Regions from separate parts of the Homo sapiens genome. Here region 1 is linked to region 2. The links are contacts of gene promoters, found by promoter capture Hi-C in blood cells and fetal thymus (Javierre and others, 2016). All regions are on one chromosome and are shown on one strand. The core of a region is centred on a gene start or on the middle of the fragment in contact, and the rest is flanking DNA. Distances in the headings are between cores, read along the strand shown. Region 1 overlaps SLC22A8 (solute carrier family 22 member 8). Region 2 holds the start of SLC22A9 (solute carrier family 22 member 9).

Evidence for each region. Contacts are between HindIII fragments. The CHiCAGO score rates a contact against its expected background, and 5 or more counts as called.
Region 1: a fragment that was not itself captured here is called in contact with the fragment with the promoter of SLC22A9 in region 2 in 1 of 17 cell types (M1 macrophages); the score reaches 6.3 in M1 macrophages.

Annotation. Positions count from the first base shown.
Region 1 is chr11:63,000,621-63,006,284 of GRCh38, forward strand. It overlaps SLC22A8 (solute carrier family 22 member 8), which reads right to left. Exons shown (of 11, transcript NM_004254.4): 3 at 100-203. Among named protein-coding and RNA genes, the nearest start is that of SLC22A8, 12 kb to the right of the region's middle. The HindIII fragment of the contact is 3,462 bases long and covers 1,016-4,477 here.
Region 2 is chr11:63,366,961-63,373,067 of GRCh38, forward strand. SLC22A9 (solute carrier family 22 member 9) reads left to right here and starts at 2,825. Exons shown (of 10, transcript NM_080866.3): 1 at 2,825-3,498; 2 at 4,175-4,278. The coding sequence starts at 3,097. The HindIII fragment of the contact is 7,377 bases long and covers 1-6,107 here.

The sequences.
Region 1 (5,664 bases), core at 1,497-3,996, 370 kb before region 2:
CCCAGCTCTTTGCCTCTTTGCGGGTGCACGGGTGGAGCAGAGTAGGGAAGGGTTGTCCCCATGGGTCATGCTTCCATGGGCTGTGCCCCCATGTCTCACCTGTCAGACAGGTCTCCAAGCACGAGCCCTCCAATCAGTATACCTGCCATGAAGATAGACTGGGCCATCTCCTTCAGTTTGTTGGAGTTGCACACCAAGTCCCACTGCACAAGAGAAAGGTAGGGCTAGCCTAACTCAGTGTAGACAGCCTGCTCAGCCATGCTCAGCCTGTGGCCTCATACATGTGGGCTTCCTCTCCCAGCGCCCTGACTTTGCCCCTACCTCCCAAGGACCGTTTCCTTTTTCAGCCCGGCTCGGAGCTCCTTGGGTTTGTCTGTGGCTCTTCGGCCCCTGACCTGCATCCCTCAGGCATGTGTGGCCTGTCATATGGCTCTCAAAGTCCACTCAGCTACCACATCCAGGTCTGGCCTCAACTGCTTCCTCCTCTCCAAGTTGCCTGCTTCCCTGTTTGCCTCCTCCCTGCCCCTCACATAGCCCAGGCCAGTCCCTCTGCGTACCCCCTTGACCTTGCCTTCTCTCCTCTACAGGGACGTTCCTCTATCCTTGCCACCTCTCTTCATCCTGCAGATCCAGTCTCTCTCTCTCTCTGCTCCTCCTCATCAGTATTTAGGTGTGTCCAAATCTCTCCATCTTAAAACCTCTTTCCTTTCCTCATTCACTCCATTTCTCTCTTCCCTTCAAAGCCAAATCCTTTGAACGAGGAGCTGTACTTGCTGTCACTCCATCCTCATCTCCTTTTCATGTCTCACTTCTGCCCCCAACCCATCCACTGAATCTGTGCTTATCAAGGTCACTGAAGTTTCATTTTTACGGCGCACAATGGAACGTCCCTAATCCTGGCCTGGCTTGCCCTCTGGCAGATGTGGATGCTGCTGATCTCGCCCTCCGTCAGGCTTCCTGCTGTTCTGCACTCCTCGTCTCCTTCACAGCTCGTTTCTCTCTGCCTAGTCCTTGAAGCTTTCCCAGGGCTCTTCCTGAATCCTCCTCTCTCTCCACTTTCCCCAGGCGATGCCATCTGTTCCTGCGGCTTCAATTCCTATTTTATACTGAAGATTCCAAATCTACAACTCCAGCCCAACCTATCTTCTGACCCACAGAGGAGTAGATTCAGTGGTCCCACTTGAGAACTCTGCCTGGATAGAGTCACAGGCACATCCCAGATTCAATGGGACTTATCACCCCACTTCTCATTAAAGTCCCAATCTCAGGGACTGGTAACCTTCTCTTTTTAATTAATTAATTAATTAAATTAATTTTTTTTTGAGACAGGGTCTCACTCTGTCACCCAGGCTGACTACAGTGGCATGATCATGGCTCAATGAAGCCTCAGTCTCCTGGGCTAAAGCCATCCTCCTAAGTAACTGGGACTACAGGTGTGCATGACCACACCTGGCTAATTTTGGATTTTGTATATAGACAGGAGCTCACTATGTTGCCCAGGCTGGTCTCTAACTCCTGGCCTCAAGTGATCTGCCTGTCTTGGCCTCCCAAAATACTGGAATTACAGATGTGAGTCACCACATCCAGCCTCTTTTTTATTTTTATTTAAAAAAAATTATATCATTTTTAATTGGCAAATCATAATTATATTACATATATGAAAACAATGTGGTGTTTTGATATATGTATGCAATGTGAAGTGATTAAATCAAGCTAATTAACATCACTTCATTTACTTGACATTTTTTGTGGTGATACTTTTGAAAGTCACCCTTCTAGTTATGGTGAAATAAACAATACATCATTATTCTTGACTGTAGCCATCATGCTGTGAAACAGATCTCAAAACGTATTCCACCCATCTAGCTGAAACTTTGTACCCTTTGATCAGTAACTCCCCATTCCTTTCCCCAGCCCCTTCCCCCCGAGCTTTTGGTAACCATCATTCTACTCTCTACTTCTGTGAATTGGACTTTTTTTTAAAGATACCATATATAAATGAGATCATGCTGATAACCCTCTTGATTCCTTCCTCCCTCTCCTACTCCACAATCACTTGATCTTCAAGATTCTAGCTTTTTGATATTTCTTGAATCTGGATTCTTCTATTTCCAATACTACTGCCTTAGTGTAGGCCTCATCATCTTGCACTTAGATTAATAATGACAACTGATATTTATTGAGGGTGTTCTAGGTACTGGGCACTGTTCTAAGCTCTTTCCATGTTTTAACTTTAATCTTCACAATAACCTTATTATGTAGGTGCTAATATCATGCTATTTTACAGATAAAGAACCTGAGGCCCAGATGAGGCTGCTGCAGCAACCTCTTGACAGGTCTACTGGACTTCGGCCTCATCCCTTCCTAGCCATTCTTTCCCTGATAACCTGAAGGGCTAAAACGCCACTCAAATCAGGTGCCTGTCTTGCCTAAAGTGCTCACTGGCTTCTCCTTGCCCTTTCGGTAAAGATAATGCCCCATTAACATGGGTTTATGAGGCCCTCCATGCTCTGGCCCCTGCCTACCTGTCTGGTCTAATCTGCTAATCCCCAACATGCACCCTTTGCTCCAGCCATCTGAATTACTTGTGCGATGAAGTGGAGAATTTAATTCAATAGAAATGCCTCACAAGAATGTTTTGGAAGCAAAACATTCCAAAAGGTGAAGAACCAAACATTCCAGGGAGCTCTTTCTCACTTTCCTCAGTTGGAAGTGAGGGAGAATGGTGGTGGATGGAATCTCCGGGTCCTACAGCTGTCTCAGAGTGGCCCAGCATGGCCAGCAAGCCTGGTGGTCCGTTTTAGTTGGGAAGGGGGCCTGCATGGTATGTGTGTTGGGAGGAGATGGAGGAGGGACAAAGGTAAAGGAAGAAGCAAGGGGGTGTGAGGTGGAGGAATGTGCAAGGGGCCATCTAGAGAGACTTCTGGTACTTTGTGGCATGCTGTGTAAAGTCCCTTTAGGAAAATCTAAAGGAGAGACCTACTGTTCACCTAAATTCATTCACCCCTTCTTCCATAGTAAATAGCACATTTCCCTGATGACCTTGTACTGAGTGGGGCCATGTAGTTCTTGACAATGGAATGTGAGTAGAAGAGATGTATGTTACTTCCACCTCATTTGCTTAAGAGGGATTCCCTAGTCTGGACTTGCATGCTTTCTTCCCCTCCTGTTGGTGGGAATGGTGACAACTAGAACAACTCTGGAGAGTTGCTGTCAGTCTGGGTCCCTGAATGACTCTGTGAAGCAGAACCACCCATTGGCCTAAAATGCTACTCACCTTGGAACTGTTACATGAGAAAGAGAAACACTTCAATATTTTTCGAGCCATGAATTATTGTTGTTATAATAACCTAGCCTATCCTGATACATCCCATAAGAAGTTGCAAATGGAAATTAGATTTTTATCCCAACCTCCATGATAATTAGTGCCTTAAGAAATCAATAATCTGTTTGGATCATGAGAAGGTCAATTGTCAGACCTGCTTGGAAGGTTTCAGGCTGCTGTCCTGCTCCACCATCTGAGACCAGATCTGCTGGATCTTGGTTTCTACCATGATACTTGTGATCATGTAGGCTTTAGAATAACTGTCATGAGCTGGTTTCTACCAGAAAATTGAGCAATTTACAGAAAATATCATTCCTGGAATAAACTTTTGAGACCTGTTTAGAACATGCCTGAATCCTTACAATGGCTTACGAGGCCCTGGAAAATCAGCCAACATCTTTATCCCTGTCACCTCTCTGCTCTTACCTGCTACTGCCCTCTCCCTCACATACTCCACTCTCGTTGAATTGTTCGCCTTGCTGCTCCATAAACATTTCAAGCATGCTCCTACCTCAGAGTCTTGGTGTATGTTGTTCTCTTTTTCTAGAATGTTCTCCCAGATAGCTACTTGACTTGCACCTCCTTCAGATCTTTGCTCAAATGTTATCTTCTCAGTGAGACCTCCCTATTTACAATTATAACTCCCAGCAGCCTATACCTCTCTACCCTACTTAATTTTCTCAGTAGTGCTTATACCATCAGAATGCTGAATGATTTTCCATCTTTTTGGTTTATTGCATGTTTCTCTCCCAAGAATATCAGCCTGATGAAGATAAGGCTTTTAGTCTGTTTTGTTTACTACTGTACTTTCATTATCAAGAACAGTATCCGATACATACTAGGCACTCAATACTTGTGGAATTGAATGTGTGAACATTCCACAGAAAGAACAGAGGGATTGAGAGCCTTAGAAGTTAGAGATCTGCCAGTGTCTACATGAGAGGTCATAGGGCCCACACTCCAAATGCTATGTGCCTCATTTCACCAGAATGAGTGCATGTCAATATGGATAGTGTCTAGGCTGTATGTGCTGAGGATATAACCACACGCCAGTGAGCAGGAGAGAAGTGTTTTTTCTTCACAGTCAGACTGGGAAACCTACTATGGAAAAATTGTCTACTGGAGGATTATCATCCTTCAATGACATTTAGAAGCTTGGAAGGAAGAGTGATTTGTGGTTAAATATTTTTAAAAAATTGAACTTCAATTGCACTCTAAATTGCTCCCAGAGATTTCATGGTTAATGAAGCACATCAGAACTGATGAGAAAAATATGGCCATGGCTTCCCTAAAGATCAACACAAATCTGTTTTCCCTGAAGACCAACACAAATCTTCCCTGAAGATCAGGAGAAAGCTTTGCAAATAATGCCATAATAACCTTATAAAGTAGGTACTCGTGTTATTTCTTTTTATAGACAAAGAATCTGATCTCACAGGGTAAGTGGCTTGCCCAAGCATGGCTTGGTTCATTTCAAGACAGAGACTGAAACTCAGATCTGAGATCTGCAACTGTTATGGGTTGACTTGTGTCCCTCCAAAAAATACATTGAAGTTTTAACTCTTCGTGGATCAGAATACGACCTCATTTGGAAATAGAGTTGTTGTAGATGTAATTAGCTAAGTTATAATATGAGGAGATTATACTGAGGTAGAGTGGGTTCTTAATTCACTATGACTCGTGTTCTTATAAGAAGACAAGAGAGAGACACATGGGGATGTTATGATCCACAGAGGCAGAGATTGGACTGATGCGTCTACAAGCTGGGGAATGCCAAGGGTTTCCGGCAACCACCAGAAGCTGGCAGAGGCAAGGAAGGATTCTTCCCTAGAGCCTTTGGAGAGGACACACCAACACCTTGAGTTTGGATTTCTAGACTCCAGATCTGTGAGACAATAAAATCTGTTGTTCTGAGCCACCCAATTTGTTGTGCTTTGTTATGGTAGCCCTAGGAAACTAATATACGGCACGATTCCTGAATATTTGAAGGAACTGCTGGCTTTATAAGGGGTGATTGGAAGAGGATTGGGACTAGACAAGCATGGCAATGAGGGAACCAGATGTGGAGCAAATGGGAGAGATTTTTAAAGGCATCCTGGAATTTCTGGGAGAGAGGAAGGTATTTAGAGAGAATTTTGGCATGCTTTCTGTGCAAAGACCCTAAGAAGGCCCTTTTAAGAAAACTTAGGCTAGATGTCTTGATTATTACTCAGGGTGTCAAGAGTGTGACTTGTGTTTCCCTTGACTGTGTCTCCATGGTAGTCTGAGCCATGCAAGTCCTTGGATTCCATCAGGTTACACTACAGAAGCTCCATGCTATTGCATTTCTCTTTGCTTTG
Region 2 (6,107 bases), core at 1,575-4,074:
ATTGCCAAGTCAATCCTAAGCCAAAAGAACAAAGCTGGAGGCAACACGTTACCTGACTTCAAACTATACTACAAGGCTACAGTAACCAAAACAGCATGGTACTGGTACCAAAACAGAGATATAGACCAATGGAACAGAACAGAGCCCTCAGAAATAATGCCACATATCTACAACTATCCGATCTTTGACAAACCTGACAAAAACAAGAAATGGGGAAAGGATTCCCTATTTAATAAACGGTGCTAGGAAAACTGGCTAGCCATATGTAGAAAGCTGAAACTGGATCCCTTCCTTACACCTTATACAAAAATCAATTCAAGATGGATTAAAGACTTACATGTCAGACCTAAAACCTTAAAAACCCTAGAAGAAAACCTAGGCAATACCATTCAGGACATACGCATGGGCAAGGACTTCATGTCTAAAACACCAAAAGCAATGGCAACAAAAGCCAAAATTGACAAATGGGATCTAATTAAACTAAAGAGCTTCTGCACAGCAAAAGAAATTACCATCAGAGTGAACAGGCAACCTACAGAATGGGAGAAAATTTTCACAACCTACTCATCTGACAAAGGGTTAATATCCAGAATCTACAATGAACTCAAACAAATTTACAAGAAAAAAACAAATAACCCCATCAACAAGTGGGTGAAGGATATGAACAGACACTTCTCAAAAGAAGACATTTATGCAGCCAAAAGACACATGAAAAAAATGCTCATCATCACTGGCCGTCAGAGAAATGCAAATCAAAACCACAGTGAGATACCATCTCACACCAGTTAGAATGGCCATCATTAAGAAGTCAGGAAACAATAGGTGCTGGAGAGGATGTGGAGAAATAGGAACACTTTTACACTGTTGGTGGGACTGTAAACTAGTTCAACCACTGTGGAAGTCAGTGTGGTGATTCCTCAGGGATCTAGAACTAGAAATACCATTTGTCCCAGCCATCCCATTACTGAATATATACCCAAAGGATTATAAATCATGTTGCTATAAAAACACATGCACATGTATGCTTATTGCAGCACTATTTACAATAGCAAAGACTTGGAACCAACCCAAATGTCCAACAATGATAGACTGGATTAAGAAAATGTGGCACATATACACCATGGAATACTATGCAGCCATAAAAAAGGATGAGTTCGTGTCATTTGTAGGGACATGGATGAAGCTGGAAACCATTATTCTCAGCAAACTATTGCAAGGACAAAAAACCAAACACCGCATGTTCTCACTCATAGGTTGGAATTGAACAATGAGAACACATGGACACAGGAAGGGGAACATCACACACCGGGGCCAGTTGTGGGGTGGGGAGACAGGGGAGGGATAGCATTAGGAGATATACCTAATGTTAAATGACGAATTAATGGGTGCAGCACACCAACATGGCACATGTATACATATGTAACTAATCTGCACGTTGTGCACATGTACCCTAAAACTTAAAGTATAATTTTAAAAAAAAGAAAATGTGGCACATATATACCATGGAATACTATGCAGCCATAAAAAATGATGAGTTCACATCCTTTGTAGGGACATGGATGAAGCTGGAAACCATCATTCTCAGCAACCTATCGCAAGGACAAAAAACCAAACACCACATGTTCTCACTCATAGGTGGGAATTGAACAATGAGAACACATGGACACAGGAAGGGGAACATCACACACCAGGGACTGTTGTTAGGTGGGGGTAGGGGGGAGGGATAGCATTAGGAGATATACCTAATGCTAAATGATGAGTTAATGGGTGCAGCACACCAATATGGCACATGTATACATATGTAACAAACCTGCACGTTGTGTACATGTACCCTAAAACTTGAAGTATAATTTAAAAAAAAGAAAAAGAAACATTATGTTAAATGAATTAAGCCAGATATACAAAGTCAAGTATTTTATGATTCAATGTATAAATCAAATGTCCACAATAGGCAAATCCTTAGAATCAGAAAGTAAATTAGCGGTTGCTAAGTGGGATGTGTGAATAAAAATGGAGAGTTACTGCTAATGGGTATGGTTTCCTATGTGGTGATTAAAATGCTCTGTAACGATATAGTAGTGATGATTGCACAACTCTTTGAATGATCAAAACACATTCAATTGTATACTTTAAAAGGGTAAATTGTATGGTAAATGAATTATACTTCAAGGAGGTTTAAATTTTAATAGAAATTTTAGTCCTAATCAAGGTGACATTTTCTCCCATATTTTGCCTCCAATTCTTCCACAGCACATAGTGCATCTCACATAATATTTATAATGTTGGAGTGCAATTGTTTATGTACTCTCTCTTACTTACTCAACTATAAGATCCTTGAACTTGTCACACACGTTACTTTAGGAACTAGCATGGAAAAGGTCTTCACAAATACTATCTGAAAAATCAATAAGCCAGTAAAAGTAAACCTCCATATGAGCTTACTCCTCTGCTTTTCATCACCATCTATTCTGTCCACATTTCAAGCAATGTATTTCCAGCATGAATTTGTGGTGTGATTTGACATGAAGGAGAACATCAGTCACCAAAATGAAAGGATTGTACCACAGTACCCTTATTTTAGTTTAACTTCGACTTTTTTAGATTAACTCTTAATCAAAAATTGGTACTTAACAAGGAAAAACTTGCCTTCTGTTGTTTTCAGAGAAGTAAAAAAAGCACCTCACCTTTGAGTCGCCAAAATTATGCTTCCTGGAATGACCGCATACCATGTAGCAGGTTTATTTTAGTTTGTTTACAGAAAAGTGTAGACCAAAGTCCAGTGCTGACTTTGGGAGCTACTAAAGACATGAAAAAGTAGAATTTTAAACACATTTCATTGTAAACGACTGGGAGTATCTGAGCAAATTATTTCTTACGTGACTTTAGAGAAAACGGCTACCTATCTGACCCCAAAACGACTTGAGGAAACTGTTTCCACGGTCCTGCTGCAGAGGGGAAGCACAGTCGTCAAGAAGAGAGTGGGGTCAGGATCAAAACACATTTAGTGTGACTTAGGGAAAGAAAACATTTTCCCTCTTTGAACCTCTCTGGATACAGTCATTTTGCCTCTACTTGAGGATCAACTGTTCAACCTCAATGGCCTTTCAGGACCTCCTGGGTCACGCTGGTGACCTGTGGAGATTCCAGATCCTTCAGACTGTTTTTCTCTCAATCTTTGCTGTTGCTACATACCTTCATTTTATGCTGGAGAACTTCACTGCATTCATACCTGGCCATCGCTGCTGGGTCCACATCCTGGACAATGACACTGTCTCTGACAATGACACTGGGGCCCTCAGCCAAGATGCACTCTTGAGAATCTCCATCCCACTGGACTCAAACATGAGGCCAGAGAAGTGTCGTCGCTTTGTTCATCCTCAGTGGCAGCTCCTTCACCTGAATGGGACCTTCCCCAACACAAGTGACGCAGACATGGAGCCCTGTGTGGATGGCTGGGTGTATGACAGAATCTCCTTCTCATCCACCATCGTGACTGAGGTAAGAGGCTCTGTTCTCGTCTCATGAGTATGTGACCTGGGTGTTTAGAATAACACAAGTAATAATCATGCTTCCAGCCTTCAGTCACATGTAGGTCCTTAGTCTTCATTCTTTCAGCAAATACTAATTGCTTCTTTATTAAATGTCTGACACCTACACATTTTGAGTAATGAATTCCAAAGTAGAAGGCATCCTGCTATTATAATGCTTTAAGTCACAGGGAGACCAAAGTTTAAACAAGCATTTATATATAATATGTTAAAATGTTCTGCTAGGTCAGTGATGCTCAGCCTGTCATTGCAAATTAGAAATATCTGGGAAATTGAGAAAAGCCTCCATGCCCAGAGTATACCCTAAAACAATCATATGAGAAGGTCTAAGAGGGAAATTTAGGTTTCTAAAAGTTTTTAAAGGTCTTCAAGTGATTGCACCATGTGGTCATGTTTGAGAACCATTTAGTATGAAATAAAAACCTATAGGTTTAGGAAAGTCTTCCAAGAGAAAGTTATGTTTAAGTTGAGACCTGAATAACAAAGGTCAGGTAATGCTGAGAAAGGAAGCCACAGAGGAAGTTAGAGACTTAATATTAGGAAACTTGCAGATCATGCTAAGAAGTTTTGATCAAGTTACACTGAGGGGTAATAAGCATTGATGTGCTGGCTTCCTTCTCTTCCAGTGGGATCTGGTATGTGACTCTCAATCACTGACTTCAGTGGCTAAATTTGTATTCATGGCTGGAATGATGGTGGGAGGCATCCTAGGCGGTCATTTATCAGACAGGTGAGTGTGTATGGAACACAGCTCTCTTTAAGGGCATTTTTTATCAACTTATGAAACATTATTTCATCTAGAATTACTTACTGCAAATTACATTCTCCTGAGGCTGCCCTGATCCCCAAACAGAAAAGGAAATTTTTAGTCCGTGTTTTGAGTGCTATTTTTAAAATTTGAGCTCTGTATGCAGGACACAGAAATGATATCTCCATGTGAACTGGGGGTGTTTCAAGACAGGTTTTAGAGAGAAGGTACCACAACATGTGGTTTAGAAATATGAGAAAGAGTTAACTAAGGGAATAGAAAGGAAGACGTTTCATCACATAGGATTCAGCCTTGGCCAGGAGTACCAGGTCCAGTCCTACCTGGACACTGTGAGCTGATAGCTTGTGCCCAGAGAATTGTCATTACATCATAGTTCCAAGTGTGATGAACACGCATTCCTCTAAAACCTGTAGGGTATATTTGAAGGTATCATTGGTGGTGTGTTGAAAAATTATGTGTAGAAACTTGATTATTGTCTTTGCAAAAACAGCTTTTTAGAACCATGTGAGGTAAGTAATCCAAGGATAATACTATCTCAGTCTGTGGTGTGAGAAGTTTGGGGTATTCACCTTGCTGTATGTCTCCTGACATGGCAGGGAACAATTACCTTCACCCAACCATGTCTCCCCTGATGGCGATGAGGGACTTGAAGTGCCACTTGCCATCCACCAACATCATGTCTTCTGGTGTCTCACCTGAAAATTTGAACCTTGAATGTACGACAGGAAATGGAATGTAGAATGAGCTAAGAGTCAGAGGGTTAATTTCCAATAGTTAGTCACCCAGTCCTCTGTGATACTGTCCTGGGAAAATGCAGATAGACCAATTTTAATAGATCACAGGGTGGTAAAAGAAGGGGTAGGAGATGCCAGGCAGGAGATGACAGTGGAGAATCAGCTAAAGACGAAGGGACAAGATAACCTAAGGATTTTGGTATTTCTCACAAACCTAAGAGGAAATATTATGTGATTATATGCAGAGTAGGCTATGATCAAACTGATTGTTTTGGAATAACTCACTCAACTGTTTATGATATCTTAAAATCGGAAATAATCTATAATTTCATTAATAATAGGTTAATAAATAAGCAGATATTCACATAATGAATTTTTACAGCAAAGGGAATGAATAAAGTACTGTCTGCAATAAGGTGAATTAACATCAAAACCATTTGGTTAGGTACCACAAGACCAACAAAAAGATTACATACTATAGTGTTCCACCAATGTAAAAGTCAAAAACAAGGAACTACATTATGATGTGAGAAAAGGGAGAAATCTAATTTCCTTTAGATTTCTATTGGAATTGCATTAAATCTAAACAGCAGTTTGGGTAAGACTGACATTTTTTAAATACTGAATTTTCTGATCTATAAATATAATATTGCTTTTAATTAAGGTAGACTTTTGTTTAATTTCCCTTTGCAATATTTTATAGTTTATGATAAAAGTCATGTACTTTTTATTAATTTATTTCTAATTCATATGTAAAGATAATTTACATGTAAATTATGTACATATATGTAAAGATAATTAACTTTTTCATAGTAAACTTACATCCTGCCAACAGGATAAATTTATTAGTTCTAGTAGCTATTTATGGATTCCTTAAAATTTCCCAACTTGATCATATCATCTGCAAGGTGGAATAGTTCAAATCACTAATGTTCTACTTTTTCCTTTTAATCTCTTTCTAGCAGTAGCTAAAACCTTTGATACAATGCCAATGACATTGGTGAGAGCTGAAATCCTGCCTCACCACAGGCTATATTGTTCCAGTTGTCTACAGAG